Linked DNA regions of Homo sapiens: regions 2, 3, 4 and 5 are each linked to region 1. Evidence: promoter capture Hi-C in 16 types of primary human blood cells and fetal thymus (Javierre and others, 2016). All regions are on one chromosome and are shown on one strand. Each heading gives the region's core, a stretch centred on a gene start or on the middle of the fragment in contact. The rest is flanking DNA. Distances are from core to core; before and after follow the strand shown.

What was found. Contacts are between HindIII fragments. The CHiCAGO score rates a contact against its expected background, and 5 or more counts as called.
Region 2: a contact is called between a fragment that was not itself captured here and the fragment with the promoter of MAPK6 in region 1, in 1 of 17 cell types (naive CD4 T cells). The highest score is 5.6, in naive CD4 T cells.
Region 3: a contact is called between the fragment with the promoter of MYO5C here and the fragment with the promoter of MAPK6 in region 1, in 2 of 17 cell types (total B cells and naive B cells). The highest score is 7.1, in total B cells.
Region 4: a contact is called between a fragment that was not itself captured here and the fragment with the promoter of MAPK6 in region 1, in 1 of 17 cell types (monocytes). The highest score is 6.9, in monocytes.
Region 5: a contact is called between a fragment that was not itself captured here and the fragment with the promoter of MAPK6 in region 1, in 1 of 17 cell types (erythroblasts). The highest score is 5.3, in erythroblasts.

The regions. Positions count from the first base shown.
Region 1 is chr15:52,016,367-52,022,462 of GRCh38, forward strand. It overlaps MAPK6 (mitogen-activated protein kinase 6), which reads left to right and starts at 2,853. Exons shown (of 6, transcript NM_002748.4): 1 at 2,853-3,010. It overlaps MAPK6-DT (MAPK6 divergent transcript), which reads right to left and starts at 2,729. Exons shown (of 2, transcript NR_156732.1): 1 at 2,333-2,729. RefSeq lists enhancers at 2,454-2,523, 3,864-3,913 and silencers at 2,694-2,803, 3,104-3,613. The HindIII fragment of the contact is 8,244 bases long and covers 1-3,775 here.
Region 2 is chr15:52,329,640-52,335,670 of GRCh38, forward strand. It overlaps MYO5A (myosin VA), which reads right to left. Exons shown (of 42, transcript NM_001382347.1): 35 at 714-860. Among named protein-coding and RNA genes, the nearest start is that of MYO5C, 37 kb to the left of the region's middle. RefSeq lists an enhancer at 2,109-2,238. The HindIII fragment of the contact is 884 bases long and covers 1,937-2,820 here.
Region 3 is chr15:52,293,476-52,298,836 of GRCh38, forward strand. It overlaps MYO5C (myosin VC), which reads right to left and starts at 2,329. Exons shown (of 41, transcript NM_018728.4): 1 at 2,135-2,329. The coding sequence starts at 2,161. It overlaps LOC105370819 (a long non-coding RNA gene), which reads left to right and starts at 1,409. Exons shown (of 4, transcript XR_932250.3): 1 at 1,409-1,736. RefSeq lists an enhancer at 382-551 and a silencer at 1,993-2,152. The HindIII fragment of the contact is 736 bases long and covers 1,629-2,364 here.
Region 4 is chr15:51,615,831-51,621,629 of GRCh38, forward strand. The region is part of intron 1 of DMXL2 (Dmx like 2); the gene reads right to left. Among named protein-coding and RNA genes, the nearest start is that of DMXL2, 4.0 kb to the right of the region's middle. The HindIII fragment of the contact is 2,315 bases long and covers 2,510-4,824 here.
Region 5 is chr15:51,643,033-51,648,717 of GRCh38, forward strand. All of the region lies in intron 2 of LOC105370816 (a long non-coding RNA gene), which reads right to left. Among named protein-coding and RNA genes, the nearest start is that of DMXL2, 23 kb to the left of the region's middle. The HindIII fragment of the contact is 8,710 bases long and covers 1-5,685 here.

The sequences.
Region 1 (6,096 bases), core at 1,603-4,102:
TGACAAGAGCAAAACTCCATCTCAAAAAAAGAAAAAAAAAACACCAAAAAAACTAAAACCAACTACATTGACATGACTTTACAATTCAACTATCTGCAATAAATATAACTTGAATTCCAAGAAACTCTTGCCTAAAAAGGTGGAGTTGCAAATAACTTGATTGTGGTTTCAGGAACTTCCTAAAATCCATTTATCTCATTAAGTTACTCACAGAATTTGCCTTCATCAGGGTAAACAGCCCTCTGTTCTACTGAGTTTAACAACTATTTATCCCTTTAGGCTCTCTTCAAAACTCTCCCCCTCCTCTGCCCACCCACCTTAAACTATTATAACACAAATTTGTCCCAAACCCAATCAGGACCCCTCACTGAAAAACCAGTCTTAAACCAGATCCCTGGGCCAGGTGTGGTGGCTCATGCCTGTAATCCCAGCACTTTCGGAGGGCAAGGCTGGTGGATCACCAGGTCAGGAGATCGAGACCATCCTGGTCAACATGGTAAAACCTCGTCTCTACTAAAAATACAAAAATCAGCTGGGTGTGCTGGCGCGCACCTGTAGTCCCAGCTACTCGGGAGGCTGAGGCGGGGGAATCGCTTGAGCAGAGGTTGCAGTGAGCAGAGGTTGCAGTGAGCCAAGATTGCACCACTCTGCACTCCAGCCTGGCGACAGACCGAGGCTCTGTCTCAAAAACAAACAAACAAACAAACAAACAAAAACCAGATCCCCCAAATCTTGTAATTATTCCATCCTTGACCTCCCCTTTGTCTCACGTGTCCGTGTGAAGAGACCACCAAACAGGCTTTGTGTGAAAAACAAGGCTGTTTATTTCACCTGGGTGCAGGCGGGCTGAGTCTGAAAAAGGAGTCAGCAAAGGGTGGTGGATTATCATTAGTTCTTACAGGTTTTGGGATAGGCAGTGGAGTTAAGAGCAATGGTTTGGGGGCAGGGGGTGGATCTCACAAAGTACATTCTCAAGGGTGGGGAGAGTTACAAGGAATCTTCTTAAGGATGGGGGAGATTATAAAGAACCTTCTTAAGGGTGGGGGAGATTACAAAGTACACTGATCAGTTAGGTTGGGGCAGAAATAAATCACAATGATGGAATGTCATCAGTTAAGGCTATTTTCATTTTTTTTGTGGATCTTCAGTTGCTTCAGGTCATCTGGATGTATATGTGCAGGTCACTGGGGATACGATGGCTTAGCTTGGGCTCAGAGGCCTGACACCCTTTTGAAATGCTACAAAGATTCTGTCAATTTAGTGGTCTCCCTTACTATTGTAAGCCAACTTTGCATTATCCACAGGAAGTCAGCAGTGACACTGGATTAAATGCTCCTTGAGGGAAGGCACAGTGCTTGGTATTTATTCTCCCACCTTCTCTGGGTGATCAGACATTGATGGAAAAGGAAGGTAAACGAGTTCTCAAAGAGTGAGAGGAAAAATGTCCTGAGGATCAGAGGAGAGCCTAGAGCAGAGGCAGTGGGGCTGAAGGTACGAGCTCTCGTTGCAGAAGCTGGAAATTCTGCGGTTGGAACAAGTCTCCCCTTTCTCTTGGTTTTTTTCACTCATTACCTCTTCTTCACACCTGGTACTCAGCTGACGTTGTTTTAAATATTAAAAAATATAAAGCATTCAAGCTCACCCCAACCACTTAACTTCATTACTCTGTGATTTTTTTTTTTGAGACAGAGTTTCGCCCTTTCGCCCAGGCTGGAGTGTCCTGGCGCGATCTCGGCTCACTGCAACCCCCCGCGGGGTTCAAGCTATTCTCCTGCCTCAGCCTCCCGAGTAGCTGGGATTACAGGTGTGAGCCACCACACCCGGCTACTTTTTGTATTTTTAGTGGAGACGGGGCTTTCACCATGTTGGCCATGCTGGTCTCGAACTCCTGGCCTCAGGTGATCTGCCCGTCTCGGCCTCCCAAAGTGCTAGGATTACAGGCGTGAACCACCACGCCTGGCCCTTTGTGATCTTTTTGAAGTGGTCTTTGCCTCTTTCTTGAAGATGCCCATAATAATGACTAGAAGGGCTATTCTATGTCTGGTTCTCAGCAAGATGGTGATGAAGTCATTGAAAAAATATGCTGACCTGCGTCTCTAATTTCATAAATACTTAAATTTCACATAAACACTGAAAAGGCTCCTTGGACTCAATAAGCCATGATAAGTAATGTAAGTTTGCTTTTAGCCAAGTGGGCCCAAGAAGGCACCCATCCACCTTTCTACGTTTCATAGTGCATCCCTTCCCAAATTCAAATTGTCCTATCCCAGTTCCTGCAACAAGCCAGGTACTCTGGCCTCCCAGTCTTTGCTCACAGAAACACCCTCCCCACCTCCTGGTTATATCCGCTCCTCCGGGATCCAGCTGAAAGGCCACCTTGGCGACCACTCCTGAAAGCCTTCCTCCATACTCTGGCAGAATGAATGACCTTAGTATTGGCCTCTAACGCGTCTGTCTTGTGCTCGGGCTGTCGCCTTCCAGCCAATCCATCTTAAGGTCCACCCTTCCTGGAGACTGAGGCCTCTTCCTCTCGGATTGCCCAGTGCCTTGCACGTAGTAGGTGCTTAGTAAACGCTGGCACTGGGTTTGGTCACTTTGTTCCCTTAATGCCAGGGCAGGTAGTAGAGCAAACGGCCCCAGCTGTCTTCCTCCCTGCCCGCCCGCAGGCAAAGCCCCCAGGAGACGCCGGACGAGCCGCGTGCCTTTCCCACCGCCTCCGCGGCGCGCGCAGCCCAGTCACGGGCGCTGGAAATTCCGGCGCGTGCGGGTGCGCTGGGCAGGGCGGGGGCGGGAGAACCCGTGGAGTGAGCCTGTGACGTGAGGGGGCGTGGCACCGCGAAGCCCCGCCCCCTCTTCCTCGCCCTCTCTCGCGGGTCGGGGTTACATGGCGGCGACTGCGGCAAAGCGAGAGCCTCGGAGACGCCGCTGCCGCCAGCACAGCCGGAGACCTGAGCCGACACTGGGGGCAGTCCGCGAGCCCCGCACTCTCTCGATGAGTCGGAGAAGTCCCGTGAGTGTGTGTGTGTACGTGTGCGGGGTGCGCCGGCGGGGCGGCTCGGGAGGGCGCCGCGGCGGGCCCGGCGGCGGCGGCGGCGGCGGCGACGGCGGAGCCGGCTCCCTCCTCCATTGTGTGTGACCCTCCGGCGGCTGCCGCTCAACAAAGGCGTTTTTGTTCGGTCTGCCGCCCGCCCCCTGCTCGCCCGCCTGCCCGCCCGCTCGGGCCTGGCCGGCGCGTCCCCGCGCGGGCGGGCGGGCGGCGGGCTGGGGTCCCCGCGTGGGGCCGGCCAGGCGGCCAGCGCGCCCCTCCCACCCGGCACGCCCCTCGCCGGTCGCCCTGCCAGGCCGCGCCCGCTCCCTGGCCCCGCACGCCTGCTGCCGTCCCGCCGCCTGCGCCTGGCTCCGCGGGTTCGAAACCCAGCCGGACCGGACCGGAGGGCGGGCGAGCGAGGGGCGGCGGCCCGGGGAACATGAGGTGGCGTGGAGTCTCGCCTTACTGGCACGCTGCCTTTCGAAATGCTCCCGCGTCTCCTCCCCCATCCCACCCGGTGACTCGGCCTCAGCTGACTCCGGCCGGGCAAAGTCTCCAGTGGCGTAGCGCGCAGCGCTCACCCGGCTCGTCTCAGAGCCCTGAAGTCCGCCCAAGTTTTGAGTCTTGCCATGAATGAGGTACTGAAAACTCGGAGACGAAATTCCTAATTTCCTCCCTCGGCCCTACAGTCTTTCCTTAGCTTCTTTCGGGACCTTAAGTGGTGGTCTGTAAAAGTGCCCAAATGAAAGCTTGTTTTGTCGGTTCACCAAAAAGGGCCTTGTCACTTTGCTGTGCATTTTAGTCCGCCTTGTGAGTTGTGTCGAAAAGTAAAGGTGTTTTGGCATCCTTTTGTTTCTTGGCGAGTGTAGGACCCAACCGGTTTAGGTGTTAGGGGGATCTCTGTGCAGCGGGAGCTTCTTGATTCCTTTCCTGTTTTATTTTTTCTTTTGCTTGTTCATTGGAAAAGGTCCAGTGAAAGGGACTGGTGAGTTGGAATTAGAAGCCTACTTGTATTAACGGCAGAATTCGTGTTCATTGCTAAAGATGCAGTCTCAGTAATGACTTTTTTTTTTTTAACGGATACAGATGATTTGTCAAGGGGAAAAATTAACACGCCATACAATGAAGAGCAAGCAGCTTCAGAGTAATTTTCTGATGGCTGATTCTTCTAGCCTGTCTCTTACAGTTCCAATTGCACATGTCCTCCCTCTTTAACGCTGGAAAACTGAGATGGAAAGAATGATCTGACCAGAAGAATGTAGGGTCCAAACAGGGCCTGGCCCTGAAATCAGGAATTTCTTCATAGAAATATCAGATTTTAATGTTTAAAAAATAATTTTGAATTGGGTGAAAGGAACTTTGTCTTTAGATAGTAGTTGTTCAAACATGTTTATGAAGTGTTTGCTATGTGCCAGGGATTGTAAAGTCATTTCACATATGTTACATCATTTATTAAGAATTGCCTTAAGCTTGTAAAATTATTCATTGATGTCCTGAATTCAGTAATTGCAGTTAATCTAGAAAATATGCCAGATTTGAGCAGAACATATTTGATCACCTAGGTATTACTGTTGAGAAGAAAACACTGGAAAATGGAGACTATTTTAGAAAAAACTTCGTATATGAGGATATTCTGGAATTCATTTATTTGCAAAAGAGGATTAGAAGTAGTCGTTGGCTACTTTCTGTTATTAAAAAATCCAGAGAAGAGTGATTTGAAGTCAGTTAATTTTGTAATAAAAAAATGCACACATTCTAAAGACTAATGTTAGCACTAAAAGTGTTGCAGTGCTTTACATAAATTCATTTAAAGCATCGTGAGAATCATAACTGACAAAATAGTAAGGTTTGCTGACTCAGGGTACTTTGCTGAAGGGGATGGGGGTCGGGTAGGAGGAAGCTTACAAGTGCTGCTGCAAGTTTTGAGTTGGATGATGACTCATGCTGCCCACGGACTGCTACGTGGCTTTTTTTTTTTTTTTTTTTAAATACACTGTATTTTTTTCTAAATGATAGGCTAAAATGTTCCTGTCCACATTGAAATTCTCTCTCATTTTTTCTGAAGAGGAACAGCAGTTTCTCTAAAAAAGTAATGGCTTCTTAAATTGCATTTTAAAAGGATATCATATACCCTACAGGTGGAATTGTGTAACATTTGCTGAGAGGAAAGGTAAAACCAATTTCTGGTCAGGTGCTGAAATTAAATGTTTGATACTAGCAGTTTTTTGGCTACTGCTGAGAGAGATTTGTTACAGGTTGTTTATAAAGGACAGATAGTACTTTTATGGTGTCGGTAGAAATTGACCTTATGTTTTTATTGGTTATGTGAAAGTTATCTTTATATTTAATATTTAATCAGATATGGCTCTGAATATGAAAGTTTCACTCAGAATTATTAAAACATAATTATATATTGTGCTTTGTGATTTATGTGAATTTTCTGTTTTAATAAAGACAATTTGAAATAGGTATTAGTCACTATTTTTCATGGTTTTTTTTTAAAGATAAGCTGAATGTACAGTTCTAAGTTGAAACTTGGTAATAAGATAAATCTTTTGACTGATTTTAAAACAGCCAACGTTTAGCAAGGTGGCTTAAAATAAGATTGAGAGGGGGAAAAAGATTGAGAATGGCAGTTTAAGAGTGGGGCTGGGTGCGTTGGCTCACACCTGTAATCCCGGCACTTTGGGAGCCTGAGGTGGAAGGATCGCTTGAGGCCAGGAGTTCAAGACCAGTCTGGGCAACATAACGAGACCCTGTCTCAATTTTTAAAATAAAAGAAAAAAAATTTCCCACCCCATCCTCTGGTTTTTCTGTGTATACTGTTTATTTTTCCAAAGGGATTTGAGGAGTTTGTGGACAGTAAAGTGTTTGTTGTTTTTGTGAGACAGGGTCTTGCTCTGTCACCCTGGCTGGAGTGTAGTGGTGCGATCACTGTTCACTGCAACCTCTACTTCCCGGGCTCAGGTGATCTTCCTGCCTCAGCCTCCGGAGGAGCTGGGACTACAGCTGTGTGCGACCATGCCTGGCTAGTTTTTCGTATTTTTTGTAGAGATGAATGTTCACAG
Region 2 (6,031 bases), core at 1,129-3,628, 310 kb after region 1:
CAAACCTTTCTAGGGGAGTAAGGAAAAACTGAAATTCAGGAACCTAAACGGCCTAGAGCAGTTGTGCTCAACTGTGGTTACACTTGAGAATCCCTTAAGAAGCTTTTTATTATTTTTGAGAAAGACTCTTGCTGTGTAGCCCAGGGTGGAGTGCAGTGGTATAATCACAGCTCACTGTAGTCTTGAACTCCTGGGCTTACATGATCCTCCCATCTCAGCCTTTTGAGCAGCTAGGACTACAGGCATGTACCACCTCGCCTGGGTAATTTTTTTTTTTTTTTTTTTTTTTTTTGGAGAGATGCGGTCTTGCTATTTTCCCGAGGCTGGCCTTGAGGGTTTTTTCTTTTTCTTTTTTTTTTTTTTAAAGTACTAGACATTGCCAGGCTCTTCTCTCTAGAGATTTTGATTTAACTGGGCAAGAGGGAGAGAGATACATCAGTATGGTTCAAAGCTTCCAGGTGATTCTAATGTGCAGCCAGGGCTGAGAAGACCTGATCTTGAGCAATCCTTGTAGGTGGGTCTGAGGCATGTGTCCCTGCAGTTGGACTGAAAGTGCTTGGTGTGGTCAGAACACTACTGCAGCACTAGAATACATGGTATCTGATGATGACTAATGAAACCTACGCTGAATATCTCAAAAATTAGTGACTAGTTTTTCCCACCATTAACCCATGTGCCAGAAGGAACTTTTATCCAATGCAGAAAATACTTGCCCAGAATCAGGTTCTTAACAAGTTTTTGCTCATCCTCCTTCTTGTATTCCAGCATCCCTTGGAAATCCTTTTCTTTCCTGGGAATGTTGACTGGTCGGATGGGTTCATCAATGATCTGTCCTGGGGATATGTTCTCCATCTGGCCCACTTTATGAGAAGTAAGAAAGGAGGAGAAAATGTTTTCCATATAAAAAACATGAGAGGTCTCCAAGTTCCTATAATTTTGAATGCATTCTACAACAACCGAAACTTGCCATATTTGCCACTTAATTGCCTTCTCTTAAAATAATTTTTTTCTGTTAAAATTGGGTGAACAGATGGCAAAATTATATGGTCATCTTACTCTGAAAGCCACTCCTGCCTAACTGTAAATTAACATCAAATAACCTTACATGACTCAAAACTTTTTTTTATGTAATAAGGCTTACTTTTTAATAAGATTAAATGTCCAAAAAGTAAGTGGTTTAACAGATTTGTTAATTAATTGATACTAATCAGAAATGGTTAAACATATTTTGACTTTAATTCACAGGAGGAACAATCAATATCCTACAAAGGGGCAGAAGGAGCAGAAACAATTCCCCCTTGCTCTTGGCTCAATGACTTTAGCCATTAAAAGCAAAAGAACATTTACTTTAAATGTATCATTACAATCAATTCAAAACACATACAGATAGCTGGTAGAAGAGTGTTTCTTCATACCACTTGGTCCAAAATGTATTATTTTTCACAAAGGCCTCATATGGCAAAGACCTAATTTTCTCCTGCCATCCTCATTCCCAGAGAAATCATGAACAGATAAACTATCTCTATGTAGTATGATTTCCTAAATGTTATTATTTTTTATTTCTTTTTAATATAATGTTAAAAATTCTACTTATAAAGTTGCAATCAATGAAGTACAACCACTGGTTTACAATGCTTTCAGATGTTAAAAATAGTCACTATTGTCAAGGGCAGCAGCTAGAGAATTATGCTAAAGGTTAAAAAAAAAAGTCTCCAATTTCATCTCAAAATTGAGACTTGAGTGGGAAATCCAACAAAAAGTAAAGGGACATATGAGTTACCACAGCCACTGTGGAGATACACGCTAGTAACCAGGTTTTTTATCCTTTTATCTACAGGGAGGGAGAGTGGTTAAGAGATTTGTTTAAGGGCAGATTAAGTTTGAGTTCTGAGATTGCTGTCAAACAAAATGCAGATCAGATGCAAAAACATTAGAAAGCTTAATATTGCTGACTCCACGAGGTGTCAGTAGTGCTTCTTGTGTCACTCTGGGTAATTTCCTGGGTTAGTTCTGAGAAGCCAGTCCCACAGGAAGAGGTTATCACAGAGAACATCAGTACCTGCCAGTGCTCTTGCTTATGTGGCATGGAGCCTGGTGACACACCGTCCACCTCATGCTGCAGCAGCACACACTGGGACTATCAGCGCTGAAAATCTGGTTTAGGTGAAGTCACCACCATCCAGCAACACTATGATATCTAAAGAGTGGTCAGATTGTGATTGGACAGATCAGGGCTACGGCCATCTCCCATAATCTAGTTTTTCATATGCATGATCCAGTATGAAAGCCACGGGACTAACTCTAAAGTATATTCTTCCATGCAAGAGAAAAGGAGACTCAAACTGTTTGGTTTTACATAATTTCTGGTGTCAGTTTAAACACAACACCACAAGGACCTCTGAAGCAGCACACAGTGGCCTCTACAGATCATAAACCTGCAGCTGCATGTAAAAAACAAAATTATAAAACCCCTGCCATCTATGCCACTAGTAACTTTTAAGCCGCATGTACAATTCCAAAAGGGGAAACTGGGAGAAAACAAGTTCAACATACTAGGTTTATCAATAAATGCACATATTTGGACTCCATGTAACCCAAAGAGCATATTTTAAACCCACTGATTTATCAAATCTATGATGCTATCGGTTATGAAATACAGTATTTTATGTAACACTAAAAAAATTGCCAACTAAACTATAACCCATCAACAATTGTAAGATACACCCCAATTTCAGAGATGTTGAAATGGGAAACACTGCATCTCAGAATTTGTGAAATACAATGGATATTTTTACTAAGAAAGTTTATGTTTTAAAAGGAAGCTTCACCTTCCTTTTGCAAAATCTCTAACCAGGATATTTTTGGTACTGTATAAAAATGTCAGATAGAATGTGCCATACTCTCACTAAAAACTTTCTCTCTGCCTCTGAATTCTCCCTAGGGACTTAAGTCTTTGCAAAGCTCACAAATGAAATTTAGATGTCAGTTCAACATAACCTTGATTGATTTTGCAATATTATCTACTAATTAAAATAAAATGTTGGCCGGGCACAGTGACTCACACCTATAATCAGAGCACTTTGGGAGGCCAAGGCAGGCAGATCACCTGAGTTCAGGAGTTCAAGACCACCCTGACCAACATGGAGAAACCCCATCTCTACTAAAAATACAAAAAATTAGCCGGGCATGGTGGTACATGCCTGTAATCCCAGCTACTTGGGAGGCTGAGGCAGGAGAATCGCTTGAACCTGGGAGGCAGAGGTTGCAGTGAGCCGAGATCACGCCACTGCACTGCAGCCTGAGTGATGAAAGCCAAACTCCATCTCAATAAATAAATAAATAAAGAGGCAACTAGCTAAGCCTTTTGCCCTTCCACCTTCTGCCATGTAAGAACACAGAGTTCGTCCCCTTCAGAGGATCCAGCAACAAGGCACCTGCCATCTCGGAAGCAGAAACCAGACCCTCTGAACTTGCCAGTGTCTTGACCCTTCAGAACTGTGAGAAATAAATTTCTGTTCTTTATAAATCACCCAGTCTCAAGTACTTTGTTATAGCAGCACAAAGGGACTGAGGAGCCCAATGATCCATTCTTCTAGGAAGACCTGAAAAAAGACTCTAGTTTCATTTTCTAGATTCTTTATAAACTTGAGGGAACCTTTCTGTCTTCAAAAAGGAAAGAAAATTGGAAAGTTTTAAAAAAATTTACTTTTGGCACCAGGAAGATCTTGATCTCAAGTTTGAGACAATCAGATGAATTCCTAATAAGTAGAAGATTTCTGTGGGAAAATTTGACACAAAGGAGAGAAATCAGTGGCCCTTAGAAGGTATGTGTTCTAGTCCTGCCATCTCACCTGCTGCAACCATGGGTCACTTACAGGCCTTAGTTTTTTCCTCTTATGAAATAACTAATTGATTTCTAGAATCCTTTCAGGTCTTAATTTCTTGATTCCATGAAAATTAAGATGGGTGAAAATATAGCACAAAGCAGATCAAATTTTGAAACACTCTCCATTTAGCTATATAGTTTCTGCCAAAAATTATATATGCTAGCATTTTTTTTAAAAGTCTGTTGGCTTTTTAAAAAGCCTCCTTAATTAAATGTAGCTTGTAGGAGGAGGCAAGAGTTGTGCTATTTTAAACCAAAAGGATTTAAGTGTGTTGCAATACATTTAAAGAAAAGTATAAGACAACGTTTAGTTATTAGAAGGTGCCTGTATTTTCTGTGTAACAGGCAGATACGAGGATGAAAAGTGTCACCTTGATTCTCTTTATTTGGGGTAGAAGCAGGTACACTGCACTCAGCAAGTGCCCAAGTCACATAAATCTATTTCATTTCATCCTCTAGATATGTATCACTTAACTCAAAATGTAACTCTTCTTAAGAACTATTATAATGCCTTTTTTGTTTGATCTATGAATTGCTATTCTCAAATGCTACTTATGGCTTTACAGCTGTCTGGATAGTTTAAATGATGAGGTTGATTTCTGATTGACAATGGCTTAAGATTAGTAATATCTTAAAATAGTCTAACCCATCTCTTCAACTAAAAAATATACATATCAAAGAAAACTAATAAAAATTATGTAAAATAATGAATGGCTTTTCTGTTTATCAAAATTTACTAAAGTATGGCAAAGGAATCATTAGGAGTTGAACAAAAAAAGAATCTCACATGTTAATACACTTAAAATCTGTTTTTTTCAAACAAATACTCTGCTGTCTGATTATCATCTCATGATATAATTGGTGCAAAGTGCAAAAAGTTCTCTGAATAAAGATTTTTAAGTTCTGCTAATAGACATTATAGCTCATGTGTGTGTGAGTGTGTGATGTGGAGGCTCAAATTTTAATGTAATATATGACTCATGTAATGCTAAAGGATTATATATAAAGTGTGACTATAAAATAATCTTTCTGATTTCTAAACAAATATTTCAGTATTTGTACATCCAACAGAGTAATATCCTTTACAAAGTAAATGTCCATGTTGCCATGTTATAAATATTTCTGAAACTTACTCATTCACTCAACAAACATTTATGGAATGATTATGAGATAGGTCAGACACTATGCTAGGTGCTGTGAAAGCAAAGGGAAACAGAGATGTTTTCTATGCTCAGGAAGCTCAGAGTCTATTATGGAAGCCAGTAATTCAAACAGAAAAATTGCTAAAAATATGACATAGTGAAGACCATAAAAGATGTCGGCCAAATTGTGGTACACAGAGAGCAGAACCATAACGTCTGTCTGGGTAATCAGGAAAGGCTACTCTTGAGGATGTGACATATGACTCTGGTCTCAAAGGCTGAGCAGGACTTAACCAGGAGAAGCAGGATGACCAAACAGAAGGAGCAGTTATGACAAGACCTGGCATGTTGGAGGAATGAAAACCACACTTGGAGTTAATCATGATAGATTCTTTTGAACATCCTCAGTGATGGGGAATCTTCACTGTTTGAACCAAGCAAGAATTAGATGCAGAATGACAATGAGAGAAAATGATTAACCGTTCACACAGGTTTGAAGGCTATTCCAAAGACTGTCTCAAAATCCCTTAAGCAGTGAGAACATTGAAATAAGCTTAAAATTTGGCTTTAGGCTGGAAGCGGTGGCTCACGCCTATACCCAGCACTTTGGGAGGCTGAGGCAGATGGATCACGAGCTCAGGAGTTCGAGATCAGCCTGGCCAACATGGTGAAACCCCGTCTCTACTAAAAATACAAAAATTAGCTGGACATGGTGGCATGCACCTGTAATCCCAGCTACTCAGGAGGCTGAGGCAGGAGAATTGCTTGAACCCGGGAAGCAGAGGTTGCAGTGAGCCGAGATTGCACCACTGCACTCCAGCCTCAGCGACAGAGCAAGACTCTGTCTCCAAAAAAAAAAAAAAAAAAAAAAAAAGGAGTTTGGCTTTAGCCTTGTTCACTGCTAGATCCCTGTACCTATAACTCTTAACAAATAAACACATAAACACACTAATAGAAAAGATAAGATCCATTTGTATATAAATAATAACAACAACTGATATTT
Region 3 (5,361 bases), core at 1,079-3,578, 280 kb after region 1:
CCTCACCCCTTCAACCCCTGCAAATACAGAACTTGCCTGATGACTTTCTTAAGAAATATTTCCTCCTCATGCCACATCCTTAATTCACTCAAGGGCACCACCCTGCTGTCTCTCATACAGACTCTAACCTCAAATGTCATCCTTGGCTGGTCCCTTCAACCCCCACCCCACTCCCCAGTCCAGCCTCTCAGCCTCACCTGCCTCCACCCTCCATGGCCAACACTGCAGCTCTAATTCTTTTCCAACAGCTGGAATGACCTGAGAATTCAGCTACGTGACCCCGGCCTCTCTCCTCCACAGCCCAAGGGCGCTGCTGGCATACATAACAAATCTAACAGTCCTAACACACCACCCTTGATTCTGCCAGCCCCCACTCAAAACCCACACTGGGGAATAAAGCCCTGACCTCGCTCTCTGGCTGCCATGGCCCTCCCCTTCACACCTCCAGAACAGACAAAATGGGGGCTAACTGCCCACCAGGAAGGGAGGTGGCAGCCTAGGAACACAGGTGTCTACGTGGACACAAGGTCAGTGGGAATGGCCATCAGGCTGCGTCAGTCTCTGGGATTCTCAGATTCTCATTCCCTCCAAGCTTGTACCTTTAAACTCCTTCCTATCAGTTTTCTTACATTGTGCCTGGTACTTACTAGACATTTAATAAATATCTGAGGTTTGAGGCACCTAAAAATAGGGGTGCTTGCACCTGTGTGTTTCTGCTTCTGGAAATACTGTCACCTCAAATAGGTTCAGCAGCAGCATTTTTCTCTGTCCTCCAAAGTATCGTCGAAGACTAGTCCAAGACTTTTCTTTCACTTCCAGTAAACTGAAGGCTGAAGAAGCGCTGTTGGCTGTCTGAGGGCTCACAGTCTCACTGGTGAAAATATTCTAGAACAAAACTAGGGCAATTCAAACACTGTCCATTTAGAACTCCAGTTAATGGAGATGCAATAGAGGAGAAACTACAGTTCGGTTGCTTTGTGTCCGGACTGTTACTAAGTAATCAAAGTAGAAGAAAAACGTTTGCTTAAACCATTGAAACATGATTTTTTAAATAACTATCTTTTCTATCTACAGCAAAAGCATCTTTTAAAGTAGAAAGCTAGAGCATGTGTCCGGGGAAATGGATGGATTCTAGTTCCACTCGTCTGAATACTGAGGTCTCTAGATTTCCCCAACTGGTGTATAGGAGGATCAGGCTTTATGGCTATTCAAATGGATTTTTTTTTTCAAAAGTGCTAACACTGTCACACTCTTTATCCAAATAATTACCCAAGCCCATCTCAGAGGGTTTGGGACATATGTGGGAACGCTGCCCTTCCGAGGTAAGAGGTGGAGCCCCAGCCAGCAGAAAGGAAGCTTCTGAGGAATGCTCTAGTGTTTCCCAGAGTCAGGGTATATGAAAGGCGCTTTAGAAACTGTGGTGTTTGTACTGTTGCTAACAGTACAGATGTTAGGCAAAGAGCCTACGACTGCACCTCGTGGCCCCTGGGCTCCCCAAGCGCTTGGTGCCACTGCAGTGCCCTCAAGCCTGTGACCCAGGCTGCTTCAGCTTCTGATGAGCCTACATGCACGTTCACGCACTTTGAAGACACAGAATTCTAGAAAGCAGCCCGAACACTGCGGCCATAAGCTTCTATGCCAGCTCGTTCAAGGGGGTCCCAGGAGGGGCCAGGAGACTGGCCGGCGTCTCAGCTTCCTACGTCCGCATGGGCAACTCTGATTCCACCCGTGGTGTGGTAGGAAGGGACCGAGGCGCTCCAGTCCCGGGAGATGGGGACGCACGCGCGACCCCTGGGCACTGGGGATTCTAGGCCCCGAGGCCGGAGCGGCGGAGGGGGCGGCCCCTCCCACAGGGTCTTCCCACCCACAGGGCACCCAGGCGCAGCGGAGCCAGGAGGGGGCTTACCCGCGGGCAGGGACGGAGCACGCCGGGGCCCTGGAGGGGCGACGCTCGCTCGTGTCCCCGGTCCCCGTGGCCCCTCCGCGGCGCCTCCGCGGCCCCCAGCGCGCGCCCGCCCGCCCTGCCGTGTCAGGTGCGCAGGTGTGGCAGGTGTGGCCCGGGCGCCAGGTCGAGTCAGCGTTAGCAGGGCCGGCTCCCCCACAGCGCTCCCAGGAGCCCAGCGGACCCTCCTACCTGCGTGTACAGCTCGGCCACCGCCATGGGCAGGAGGGGCCGGGGCCAGGCCGGGGCTGCCGAACGTGCGAGGCTCGGGGGCTGGGCCTGCGCCGCAGAGGCCGGGCGCAGGAGAGACCGCCGCGGAAATCACCGCCGGGCCATCTTGCCCAAAGTTTTCCAACGGCCTCCTGTTCCCGTTCCCGAGTTGGCGGCGAGGGGAGGGGGCAGCGGCGGGATTGGTCCCTCCAAGCTTGGCCCGGCTAGTCGGCGCTGCCATTGGCCGGGGCCGGGCGGCTGCACCTGGCGGGAGCGCGGGTGGAGAAGGTTGGGGCCCGGGGCGCGCTGCCAGGCAGGAACAGATGCATCCGGAGGCTGCCCGGCCCGAGTGTTAGCTCCTCAAAGAGCAGAGGATACGACCATTTAAATGGAAGACCCAAGGGAATCAACGTACTGAACACAAAGAAATGTGTTAAGAGTCCAGCAAGGTCATCGTATTCAAAATCAAATACAAAAATAAGTAATGGTCCTTTATATGAGCATTGTCTATGCAATACAAGATATTTACAATATTAGTGAAAATATAAAGTATCCAGAGATTACACTCGCAAAAATGCCCTTGGCCTTTGTGGAGAAAATGTTTAAAATTCTCTTAAAGAGCTTAAAAGAAGGCCCAGGTAAACGGGAGACATGCCATTTTCCTGGCTGGGAATATTTAATATGGTCAAGGTGTCACTTCTACCCAAATCAATATATATGCCTAATATATTGGCGTCAGAATCCTACAGAACTTTTGGAGAATTGTACAATGATTCTATATTTCATATAGAATAAAAGCCCTGTATAACTAAGACAATTCTCAAAGAGGAGAGATTTGTCCTGCCATATATTTAGGGACATAACAAAGCAGTAGTCATTAAAACAGTGTGACACTTGCGTGAGAACGGATACGTGAGTAATGGAACATGCTGGAGCCCCCCAGCAGGGCCCTACATTATACGGTAGCCTTAAGGACCAGATAGGGAAATAAAATAATATTTATTAGATGGGCCCGTTATATGGAAAAACAATAAAAGCAGATCCGTGGCAAACACTGCATCCAAAAATAAGCTCCAGATGGATTCACGATTAAAACTTAAAACCGGGAAATTATTAGGAATAAAAGAGGGATAATATCTTTAAAATGTTGGGTTATAGTAGTTTCCATATAGAAGAATTGTTAATCGGTTAAAGAAAAGAAATCCAATTTTTAAAACTGACAAAAATTAATAGGCAATTCACAGATGGGGACACTTAAATGGCTTGTTAGCATACAAGGAGATGTCAACTTTAGCAGTAATCAGATAAATACAAATGAAAACAACAATGAGATATTGCTTTTTACCCATCATATTGGCAAAAACATTTAGGTTAGACAATCTCAGATACTGCCTAGGATGTGAGAAAATAAAAACTTGGCCGGGCGCGGTGGCTCACGCCTGTAATCCCAGCACTTTGGGAGGCCGAGGCGGGCGGATCACGAGGTCAGGAGATCGAGACCATCCTGGCTAACACGGTGAAACCCCGTCTCTACTAAAAATACAAAAAATTAGCCGGGCGAGGTGGCGGGCGCCTGTAGTCCCAGCTACTCGGGAGGCTGAGGCAGGAGAATGGCGTGAACCCCAGGGGGCGGAGCCTGCAGTGAGCCGAGATTGCGCCACTGCACTCCAGCCTGGGCGACAGAGCGAGACTCCGTCTCAAAAAAAAAAAAAAAATAAATAAAAAAAATAAAAACTTTTTTTGCTTACATAACTGGTGGGAATATACTGCCATCCTGGAGAGCAATTTGAGAATAGTTATGAAAATAAATGTAGGCAGAAAAATTCTCACAGTCACCCAAAGAGACAGTTAAGTAGATGTTCATCACAACATAGTTATTTATCAAAGAGTTGGAAGCATCTAAATATCAATAGGGGAATAAATAAAATAGTATATACATGGCAGACAGCAGAGAAAAATAAAAAAAGAAATAGTATATACATGTAAAACTCTACAGCTGTTAGTAGGAATAGACATGATCTACTTGACTCAGAAATAAAAAACAATGTTGAATAGATGTCTAGCCCAAGTCTTTAATATTTAAAAACTCACAAAAACTGCAATACTGAATATTGTTCATGGGTACAAGTATGTGTGAATAGAGGTAAGGAGGATAAATTACAAAGTCATTCATTAAATATGCAAGAGTGGATACCTATGAGGGAGAGAAATGGAATCGGAGATTTCAAAAAGGGGATCAAAAAATATAAAGAGAGGCCTGGCATGGATCAATAATGATAAATGCCACAAAGAGAGGATCATGGTAAATTTAATTTTGCATTTATTTATATACAAAATTATTTATATTATTGCCCAAATAATTCTATTTTGTATAAAGAAAAAGAAAATCTATAAGGTGAGTAGTGACAGCTGCCTGATTGCTCAGAGTTAAAAAGAGAATCTAGCTGCCTTTTTTATTTAAAGAAAATTTTTATTGAAGAATAAAATTATATACAGAAAAGTGTGCAAATAATAAGTGTACAGCTCAATATATTCTTATTCATGGAACACATCAACACACCAAAGTAACCACCGCCCAGATCCAGACGTAGAACATTACCGATATCCCAAAACTTTCTCTGTTTCTTCAAATCATTTTCTCTCAAAGATAACCACTGTTCTGATTTGTATCACCATAGATGCGTTTTACCTGTTTTGGATGTTTTTAATAAATGGAATCACATGTGTAACTCTTGCATTTGGCTTTTTACATGGTATTTATTCATCTTGTTGCATGTAGCTGCGGTTTGAGGTCTTTCATTCCTGTCTAGTAGTATTCCATTGTATAAATATTCTACAATTTATTCATTCTCCTATTGATAAATATTTCGGTTGCTTCAGTTTACACCCACTATGAATAATGCTGCTATGAACATTTTATATGTGTCTTTTGATGCACAAATATATGTATTTTTGTTGGGCACATAAACAGAGCAGAATTGCTGGATCACAGGTATGTAATGCTCAACTTTAACGGATAATGCTAAAGAGATTTGTAAAAAATTGTTATATCAATGTATACTTCTACCAGCAGTGTGTGAGACTTTTAGTTGCTTAATATCCTCACCACTTGATGTGGTCAGTTTAAAAAATAGCCTTTCTGATGAGTGTGTTATGATGTCTCACTGTGGGTCCAAGTTGCATTTATTTCTATGATGACTATTGACCAC
Region 4 (5,799 bases), core at 2,417-4,916, 400 kb before region 1:
ATTTTGTTTTTGAACTACAGCTAACGGATGAGCTACATATATCTGTGAAATGAGTCTAAGCCAGAATGTTTATGAGTTTTTTGTGTCCATCTATGCTTACTTGCAAAACACACTTACGACTTTTTGAGTTTCTCCTTAGATCACAAGAAGAAAACACTACTGATTTAGTACGAACCAATGGGTTTCTCCTAAAATCACAGGAAGAAAACAACAATTATTTAGTATGAATTAAATTAAATGTTATTACTCCCAAGGCTCAGTTTTTAGAAGACAGTGGACCTAAAGGAACATCTCTCCAATGATAATCCATCTAAGAGGGTATTATTTATTCCCCTAAAATCACTCCCACCAAATTACCATGTATATTATTTAGAGGGGCCTAACTCTGTTTTCTGTATCTGAAAGAGATAAATGATAACCATTACATTTTTTAGGTGTTCAGGACTAGGGGTAGATAGCATTAAAGGAAGCCTCAGGAATCATGAAATGAGAGGATTTGAGAGTAAAACTTGCAGGCAAACGAAAAAAAAAGAAATTTAAGAAAACAAAAACCCACACACACAAAAATAAGAAGTGCAGGCAACTGGTTTCATATTTACATCAAATTCCAGGATTACATGAGCTATCTTTAAGAGAGAGTGAATATAGTCATGTCACCTTTGTTAAGATGTACTTGTCCCTCAATACCAAGTTACATCATGGATCAGGGTTTCAGAGCACTAACATAATGCAAAAGGATTCTACAAACTCGAAAGGACTGAAAACCCTAAAACTTCTACTGAAATATTTGGCTTCCAAATTTGTTTTAAAAAATTACTGACAAATGGCCGGGTGCAGTGGCTCATGCCTATAATCCCAATACCTTGGGAGGCTGAGGCAGGAGGATCACTTGAGGTCAAGAGTTCAAGCCAGCCTGGCCAACATCGTGAAATCCTGTCTCTACTAAAAATACAAAAATTAGCCTGGCATGGTGGCACGCACCTGTAATTCCAGCTACTCAGGAGGCTGAGGCAGGAGAATCGCTTGAACCTAGGAGATGGAGGTTGTGGTGAGCAGAGGTTGCACCACTGCACTCCAGCCTGGGTGACAGAGTGAGACTCCATCTAAAAAAAAAAAAAAAAAAAAAAAAACTGACAAGCTAGAGAAGTCTGACTAAATCTGAATTTTAGATATTCTATATTATATCCCATTTTAAGTACTGCCTTGGTTTCACAGAAGGAAATTAAATTGGTCAGGCATGACTTGTTTTTCTACTGTGCCATTATGGTTGTCACCCAACATCCTGTGCTCTTTCAGATAATTAAATACTGAGACTCTGATTTGTTCTAAAAATTTACCAAGATCCAAGTTAAGATAATCTGATTATAATTTCTAAAGTAATATTTTAAATAGCCCAAATCCTAAGAACAGAAACTAAAATAAAGGCATTGCACGGGAAAAGGAAAGCTGCGAAAGGAGAACCTAAACACCATCACACTGGTCCCATCTCCCACCCAATACTGTACTATGACAGTCGCAGGCAACTATCATCTGCCAGGTGCCAAGGACCAAAACCTAATCAAGAGGCTTCTCCTCAGCTGTAAGCCCAAAGACTCATTCCTAGACCCACTACTTCATAAATGCTCTGAATGGCCTATCTACTGAGCCAGAAAGGAGGTCAGACTCCCCGACTGTGAGGTCTGATCAAATCTTGTAAATACAAGTGAGATCTGATCAAGTCTTGTAAATACAAGTGAGAAGCAATATACGATAAAGACTCCAGACCTACAACTTCAACACAACCACTTTATGTTTCTAGTCCATTTTCTCTTTTGACCCCTGAAAATCTCTAGAGAAGTCCATATAATTTTCATTCGTGGTCTAAATACTTAAAGAATATCTTTAAGAACTTCTTTTACAGATCAAAGACCTAAACATGTTTAAGTGATTTCACCAACACCATACAAGTAGTTGGTCTCTGACCTCCCATTTTTGGGGAAGACATTATTCAGAACCTTACCAGAGTTTCTGAGTAGTTGCTAGGAGTCTTCTTGCTACAAGCAAGAAGGCTAATTAACAATCTACGCAGGGACATAAGAACTTATAAACCCTATATTCACTTACTGGTTGACACTAAGCCCAAGCCCACAAGGTTTTAAATGTATCCGTTTAAACAAACAAGAAGCTACACTCCAAGAACAAAAAGGCCAATTTCTCTTAGAAAACAAGTCCATTCTAAATTCTTGACTTCTGTCTTTCACTTTCCTCTCAGCACAGGTTAACACATTAATAACCAGCCAGTACAGAAGCATGTTTCTAACCAACCCCTTGATTCCCCTGGCCAAAAGTTCTCTTAGTCTTCCTGAATTCCCACTTAAATGCTGGTAATATTGCACAGCTGGCCTACTGTGGTTAGGTATGTGTCTTTTACTCTCGTATTAGACTACCAGGTTCCTACACTTCTTCAATAAACTCCCTGAAATCAAGACTATGTCTTGTAATTCTTTTTTTTTTTTTTTAATACCCACAAAGCTTAGCACACCTATGTGTTCAACATTTGCTAAATGTATAAACTGGTTGATCATTTTCAAGGTTTGGTGTTACCATAACTCTAGGACTGAAATTTTATTCTACAATAGAGTTAAGACATATCTAAATGCCATAAAAGAGGTTATACAACATTATTTTCTAATTTTTAAATGAATGGTTTTCCATTTATTTCCAACCTTTTGTTGGTATTTTAATTTAAAAAAAAAATTGAATGTCAGAATACCAGGTACGTTTTCCTGAAAAGCTACAGGTAATGTTTGCATATTATATTTTTTCAACATTCTAAGAGTGTCTGTTATTTAATGAAGAAGTCCTGTGATTAAAAAGTAACTTTTGCAAAGAAAACAGTCACTCAATAATTTATCCTTCGTATTATGCCATTCCTTTGCTTCTGTTGTTCTTATCTTTCCAAACCTTACTCTTCCATAAAACCTCTTCTTGTTTTCCCAACTACAATCTCTTCCATCTGCCTTATGTTATAATTATATAAATCATTTTAATCTCTGCCAGTATATTATAAATTCCCTAAGAGTGCAAATGACTTACTAATTTTTGTAAACTTTGATCAATGTGTTGAAATCATGTCACACTGGAATAATAGTAACTGCCCCTATACATCTCAAAATAGTCTGCAAGCCTTAAGGCCAAATGAATTTTTAATTTAAAAAATCATCACGTATGATCATTATTTCAATTAATATTTTAATATGTGCAGTAAAGTTTAAAAAATAGCCAAGGACTATCTTTCAGAAAAGTAATAACATAAATAATGAGAAATTTACAATATCTGTTGCATAAACCCTCAAAACATTCACTGAAGGGTAGTAAGAAATGTCTTAAAGGCAAAATAAAGTATAATAAAGCTCATACACGGGAGAAGATCATCTCTTTGAACTACCAGAGATTTGACTTATTGCAGGATAACATTTCGAAAACCTAGATCTTACACTGAAAAGAACAAAATTGTTCAAAAGGTGATGTTTTAAAATGTGATATCTACAGCTACATTTACGAAATCACAATCGAATGTTTAAGGAAACAGCTGTATACTGCCTAAACACAAGTGAAAAGCATCATAGCTTACGTGATACCACTAAAACCACAGACATCAGCTGAGATTGTCCACTACAGACTGCAGTACCATGTCAATATTGCACAAATTGGGACATCACGACATCAAGTAGTCATTCACAGCCAACCAATCACGCCACCCACCATGCACAGCAAAATATATAACACACATTTCTTTCAATTATTACACTGTCATAAACTCAAAATCCTTTTAGAACAATTCTGTTCTTCAAAGATGTATCAATTTTAGACTCTGAAATAAAGTATGTATTGTATTTTGAAAAGGTTCTCAGGCTACCATGAAACACAACATCAGCTAAGAATCATGAGTTAGTTGCAAGACAGTAGTTCCTTCTACACTATGTCTGGGAGGCCTTCCATCCATCCACTAACCCACCTACGCACCCACACACCCTCTCCAGAGCAGGCACTCTGATATTAAGAAGGAAATACTACCAAGAAAAGCCCACACAATGAGAAGTCACAAGACCTTCATTCCAAGTCCTGGCTGGTCCCCCTTTTAATCATCTGATCCAGAACTAAAGTTTCTTCATCTGATTGCTCTAAAATCAAGTGACAGGCTCCATGAAGAGGAGCTTGCTTTTTATTTTTACTATTATATTACTTTATTTTATTTTACTATTATTACTATTTATTATTCCTATATTTACAAACATAGGAACTTAAGTATTTGTTAGTTGATTATATATAGACTGCTTGAAAGCAGCTTGTTTTTTGTTTTGTTTTGTTTTGTTTTTCAATCTGTTTTTCACAAAGCCCAAGAGATCATTTCTAGTTCATGGCAAAATTAAAACTGGATCAGTGCGCTCAAAACTAAGGTAGTTAAATGAGATGGTGTGCAAAATGGGTTTGTATTTACATTTGTCAAAAGACCAAAATAACAGTGTCACAGGCAGGCATCCTAAACCACGTAAATTTTGAGTCGAATTTGGAAACCCAAAAGGACTGTCTTGTTGCAACATAAAAATGCAGTTTAGAGTAAGAAGATCAGTATGTAACAGAGGGGCCAAAGTGAGGAGTACATATAATTAAAAATAAAGTCAAAGATGGAGAATACTTGACAAGTTTACATTTCCTAACACAGCTATTAAAAACAATTACATATTCTTAAGCCAAGAGTAATATAGTAAAATGACACTTGAAGAAAATTATCCTAGCAGCGGTGTGGAGGATGAAGAAGTTATCGGACATGACAGTTTTGAAAGCTTTTATATTAATACCAATAAGATTGTAAAATAAGGTGGTGGTTAAGGATATGAAAAGGAGTAAATCTGGTAGACAGTGCAGAGTCAACTAGACTTCGTGAAACGCTGAATTAGGGAAGTGCAAGAAGATTTGAAAATGACTCTAAGCATCTGGTCACAAGTGGCCTACAGCATAACCACACCTGCACAGCACTAACAGTTCTTACACAGGCTTTTCCAGGCTGCATCTGAACCCGTTTATTTAGTTCTACATACCAGACCTGCCGTGAGACAGCACTCCACTTTAGATGGAAGCAGAAAACTACCACCACCATTCTAGCAGGAAAATATAACCAAAGATTCCAGCTTTGTTTCTTGATGAAAGAGGCCCACTCTTCTAACCCTGAGGAACTTCCTATCTGCACTACTGGGGAACAGGGAAATTTCTTCTCTCTATCCCCAAAAACCAAGATTCTCCACACACTTGAAGACAAAGCTCAGCTCTATATGAATATTTTAAGTCACATGTACATAAAACACAGATGACAAAAGGGGTCGTTCTAAACTGGAGCTAGGCCAAGTGGATTACACTAAAAAATTAAAATGGCTAAAAAGCAATCTTCTGGGGTTAATGTATCACAAAACGTCAAAAAATAAATTCTGTTCCAGAATGCACTGCTACATAATGATTCTGCAGTTTTGCTGAAGCTTTATTTTCCGCAGTTTTAAAAACACTGTTGGAAAGCAGACATCAAAGGGTTTTCCTTGTCTAAAAAGCATACCATTACGGAATTTCCAGTTTTATCAAGAAGAACAGTTTACAAAATATATTTAATAAAGGTCTGGCTGCCTACAGTTCCTTATAAGGAAGACCATGTATAAATTTCATTCTTTAAAAAAGAACTCAATTTATGGGAGTCTATCTATGAGTAAACGAAGCTCCAAGGCTTGGTTTAAACATTTCCACTCTCAAAAAGGACTGATGAGTCCAATC
Region 5 (5,685 bases), core at 1,726-4,225, 370 kb before region 1:
CTGAGTGTAAGGACTAAATGTAATAATATATGGCTATTCTTAGGATCTGGCACACAATGGTTGCTCAATAAAAGTAGCCATTATAGCCGGGTGCGGTGGCTCATGCCTGTAATCCCAGTACTTTGGGAGACCGAGGCAGGTGGATCACCTGAGGTCAGGAGTTCGAGACCAGCCTGACCAACATGGTGAAACCCCGTCTCTACTAAAAATACAAAAATTAGCTGGGCATAGTGGAATGCACCTGTAGTCCCAGCTACTCGGGAGGCTGAGGCAGGAGAATAGTGTGAACCTGGGAGATGGAGCTTGCAGTGAGCTGAGATCGCGTCACTGCACTCCAGCCTGGGCGACAGAGCGAGACTCCATGTCAAAAAGAAAAAAAAAAAGTAGCCATTATCACCTATTTACTTTTTTTTTTTTTTTTGAGACAGAGTCTTGCTCTTGTTGCCCAGGCTGGAGTGCAATGATGTAATCTCGGCTGACTGCAACCTTTGCCTCCCGGGCTCAGGTGATTCTCCTGCCTCAGCCTTCCCAGCAGTTGGAATTACGGGTGCATTCCACCATGCCCAGCTAATTTTTGTATTTTTAGTGGAGATGGGGTTTCACCATGTTGGTCAGGATGGTCTCTAACTCCTGATGTCAGGTGATCCACCTGCCTCAGTCTCCCAAAGTGCTGGGATTACAGGCGTGAGCCACTGCACCCGGCTATTACCTATTTTCTAACATTACCTCTATGTAGTTGGAACATTTTTGATGATTTTTTAAATAATATAAATACACAAAGACATTTTGGGTTTTTTTGTTTTTGTTTTTTGGGCTTTTTTTTTTTTTTTTTTTAGACGGAGTCTTGCTCTGTTACCGTGCAGTGGCATGATCTTGGCTCACTGCAACCTCAGCCTCCTGAGTTCAAGTGATCCTCCTGCCTCAGCCTCCCGAATAGTTGGCATTACAGGTATGCACCACCAAAACCAGCTAATTTTTGTATTTTTAGTAGAGAGGGGGTTTCACCACGTTGGCCAGGCTGGTCTCAACCTCCTTATGTCAGGTGATCCACCTGCCTTGGCCTCCCAAAGTGCTGGGATTAGAGGCGTGAGCCACCATGCCCGGCCACAGAAAGATATTTTGAACAGAAAGACAGTACAGTTATATCCTTCAACCCCCCACTTCTCACCTTTCACTACCTTCTTATCCAACTATAAAGCATGGTATTTCAGAGCTAGTTTTTAAGGAAGAAATTGTTGAAGTTAGTCAAAGACGAAGTATGAACAATTAAAGACAATGATGTACCCCCAAAAGCCCACAAGATAGAGGTTCCAAAAATGAAATGATAAAAATGAACATGTAATGGGTAAGATTAATTATCTACCCACAAAGATCATTTACAGTCAGCAGTAAGGTCTAAATGGGTGCCTGTGTGTCATCTCCAGTGAGCACAATTCTATTGGCATGTCTATAGCTGTAACCTAGTTTGGTGCCTAAGAGGAAAGGGGTGTTTCCAGTGGAAGGAACAATGAGCCTGTACTAATCAAACCACCTTCATAGATAATTTGGCTTCCCTATTATATGTGTAAGGAAAGAATATATTGATGCAGCTGTCTTTTGTCATTACAAATGAATAAATAAGCAGTTTCTTGTGAATTTGATGTGTGAATTGATCCTTCTGAACTCAGTCAGTCAGTCGGCAGAAAAAAATCAAGTGCCCATGGAGCACTCTACTGAGGTTCACAAAATACTGCCCTGGAAAATCAATCCAAGAGGGGCTGGCTCCTGTTAATGAAGATGAGGAGGATGAGACTGCTGATAATGTTGATGATGATAGCTACTATGTGTCGGGTGCTGTGTTAAGTGCTTTACAAAAATTTCCCTGTGTAATTGCCATAGCAATCCCTCTTACAGATTAGAAAAAATGGGGTTTGGAAAGGTTAAGAAACTTGCCTAAGGTGACACATCTGTGAGCTAAGATTCAAACCAGATCTAAATGGGAAGCAAAACTACTTGATCACTGTTCTTGATTGCTTACCTCAAAAGAAGAGATCTTCTTTGGATTCTTAATGAACTTGCCTAGGACGTTTCCTTTCAATTCCATGAAAAAGTAAATACATTTTATGACTCCAACTTGCCTCTTAATAAGAAATGCCAGAAGGTTTAATTCAGGCAAATAATGTATTAATTTTCTAAAAAGAATGTTGTGGGTACCAAAAACTACAAACTAGTAAACCTGGAAAAATCTTTAATGGAGAATAAAACACAATTTGTGGCAATTTAAAAAAGAAATATATTTATCAGGAGCCAACAAGGATTCACCAAGAGCAAGTCATGTCAAATTTATTTAGTCTAGTTTTCAACAGCAAAACTAATGCCATAGACATCTTTTATTTTCTTTCCGTGAAAAATATGACAAAATCCCTACTGATTATCACACCAAAATATTATGCTGACCAAGGCCCCCACAGGCCTCTATAAAACGGCAGATCCCTTGGCAAATTTACCATTGATGAGACTCTAACTTCAGCCTGGCCAACTCAGAAATTTAATTTCCTCATGCTTACAAAGCCCACAAGAAACTAATGACTAAAACCAGCCACTTTTTATTGAAAAGTCATACTATATTGAAATGTATTTTACATATAGAAAGAAACACAAATCTTTAGTGAACAGCTTGGAGAATTCTCACAAATAAATATATATATACTGGTATAACCATCAATCATTCCAGAAAAGTTCCTCATCCCCCTTTCTGGCCAATACCTCCACCTCAATAGCTTTCTCGTTTCTACCACCAGGGATTAGTTTTACCTGATCTTGAGCTTTACATACAGGGGATTTTACACTATGCATCCTTTTGTGTCTAGCTTCTTATACTCTACACTATATTTTTGAAATTCATTTACATTGTTACGTGTATCAGCATTTTGTTTGTTTGTTTTTTTTTTTACTGCTAAGCAGTACTCCATTGTATGAATATAGTTTATGAATTTGGGTGATAGACATTGCAACAAAGCACCATTTTATTTAGACATGATAATATTAATCTTAGGCGTTTCCCTTTTTAAGGATATGCTTGCATATCACAGCTTTTGGGTTTTAGTTGAATTATCTGAAATCCCCCTGTACCTCCATTTCCAGTTCTTGCACGAACGACTTCGATATTACCCTGGCCTAATGGGTGACCTGCAGGATTTATCCCAGATGTCTGGATTAATGGTGTTCTGGCCACCTGGAGGAGTCACAAGAGTCAGTCCTCCTCTCTGCCTTGGTCTGAAAGGTGTGGCTGAAGACACAGTATAATTGTCAAATCTATAGATGGCCAGAATAGCTGATGTGAAAGCTAACAGAATCAAAATTTATAAGAATTTAAAGCAGACTGAAGCACAAAATCAAACCAACAATATAGACATTGAGAACTAGATATAGGTTCAGAAAACATCACTCACAAGTACAGTTTTGGAGTAATCTGGTTTGCCAAAATTTCAATTTGAATACACAGGTTTATAAAAATGACTGCATTAAAATAAGCATTTTTAAATCCTACTCTGCATTGATTCAGACTGTAACTGGGAAACAATTTTCAATTCTGGCCACCACAGTTTAAGAAAACTTATAATTCTGGTAAGTATATTCACAGCGAGATGACCAGTACTAATTCATTCATTCAACAAGTATTTGAGCATTTACTTTGTGCTGGGCACTGTCATGCTGATGGGGGTATAGCAGCAAGGAAAACGACTAAGGCCCTGCCTCATGGTACTTATATTCTAGAAGGAATACAGAAAATGAACAAATAAAAATATAATATGTTAGGGCCCAGGAAGTTCAATGAAGAAAAATAAAGCCAGGTAAAGTAATAGAAGAGAAGGGAAGGGCTTTTGGGAGGAAGTGGCCAAAGCAGACCTCTCCAAACAGATGACATTTGAACAAAGACCTGAACGATGTAAGGCAGGGTTCAGCAAACTATGAACAGTGGGCCAAATTTGACTGCACACCTGTTTTTGTGTGGCTCGAGAGCTAAGAATGGTTTTTATATTTTTAAAATAGTTAACAAAAAAATTTTTTAGAGAATAATACTTTTTGACATGGGAAAATTATATGCAATTCAAATTTCAGCATCCAAAAATAAAGTTTTATTGGGACACATCCGCACTCATTTATTTACTTATTCTCCATGGCTGCTCTTGCATTATCACAGCAGATTTGAGACCATATGGCCCACAAAGCCTAAAATATTTACCATCTGGCTCTTTATGCAAAATGATTGTTGACCCCTGATATAAGGGAGCAAGCCCTACCATTATCTAAGGGGAAAACGCCCTGGAATAGATAATGGCAAGAGTAAAGGCCCTGAGTCAGGCCTGTGGTTGGCTTGTGATCAACGAACTGGAAGGAAGCCAGTGTGGCTGGATGGCAGGGAGAGAGGGTGAGACTAGTAGGAAATGGCAGGAAGTGAAATCAGAAAGGGAACTTCAGACCAGATCTGCTTGGGGTAAGGATTTTGACTTAAGTGACACAGAAAGCCATTTAAGGGGTTTGAAAAAGGAATGACATAGTGTGACAGCTGGCTGGAACATGGCTGGATGGGGAAAAAAATACATCTATTTTCTCTAAGCATCAGCTGCAATTTAACATTTCAGTCATAAATATAGACAACAAAACACAATTGTATTTAGCAGTACCTGTGACTTTGTCACCAATGAATATCACTTTTTTTTTTTTTTTGAGATGGAGTCTTGCTCTATCGCCCAGGCTGGAGTGCAGTGGCGTGATCTCAGCTCACTGCAACCTCTGCCTCCTGGGTTCAAGCGATTCTTATGCCTCAGCCTCCAGAATAGCTGGGATTACAGGCGCCCGCCACTACGCCCGCCTAATTTTTTTGTATTTTTAGTAGAGACGGGGTTTTACCATGTTGGACAGGCTGGTCTCAAACTCCTGACCTTAAGGGAACTGCCTGCTTCGGCCTCCCAAAGTGTTGGGATTACAGGCGTGAGCCTCTGCACACTTTTTTATAGATAATGATTATTGTAATTATCTTAAAATATCATTTATGAATAGATCTATTCAGAAATTATTAGACCTTGTACTATAGCTTGTTATTAAATGAATTAATAAAGAAGTATGTATGTGTATTCAGAGTGAACAGGCAACCTACAGAATGGGAGAAAATTTTTGCAATCTACCATCTGACAAAGAGCTAATATCCAGAATCTACAAAGAACTTAAACAAATTTACAAGAAGAAAACAAACAACCCCATCAAAAAGTGGGCAAAGGGTATGAACAGACACTTCTCAAAAGAAGACATTTATGCAGCCAACAGACACATGGAAAAATGCTCATCATCACTGGTCATCAGAGAAATGCAAATCAAAACCACAATGAGATACCATCTCATGCCAGTTAGAATGGCGATCATTAAAAAGTCAGGAAACAACAGATGCTGGAGAGGATGTGGAGAAATAGGAACACTTTTACACTGTTTGTGGGAGTATAAATTAGTTCAACCATTGTGGAAGACAGTGTGGCAATTCCTGAAGGATCTAGAACTACAAATACCATTTGACCCAGCAATCCCATTACTGGGATTGGTATAGGTATACCTGTACCTATACCTATACCAATACCTATACCAATACCTATACCTATAGGTATAGGTATATACCTATAGGATTATAAATCATGCTACTATAAAGACACA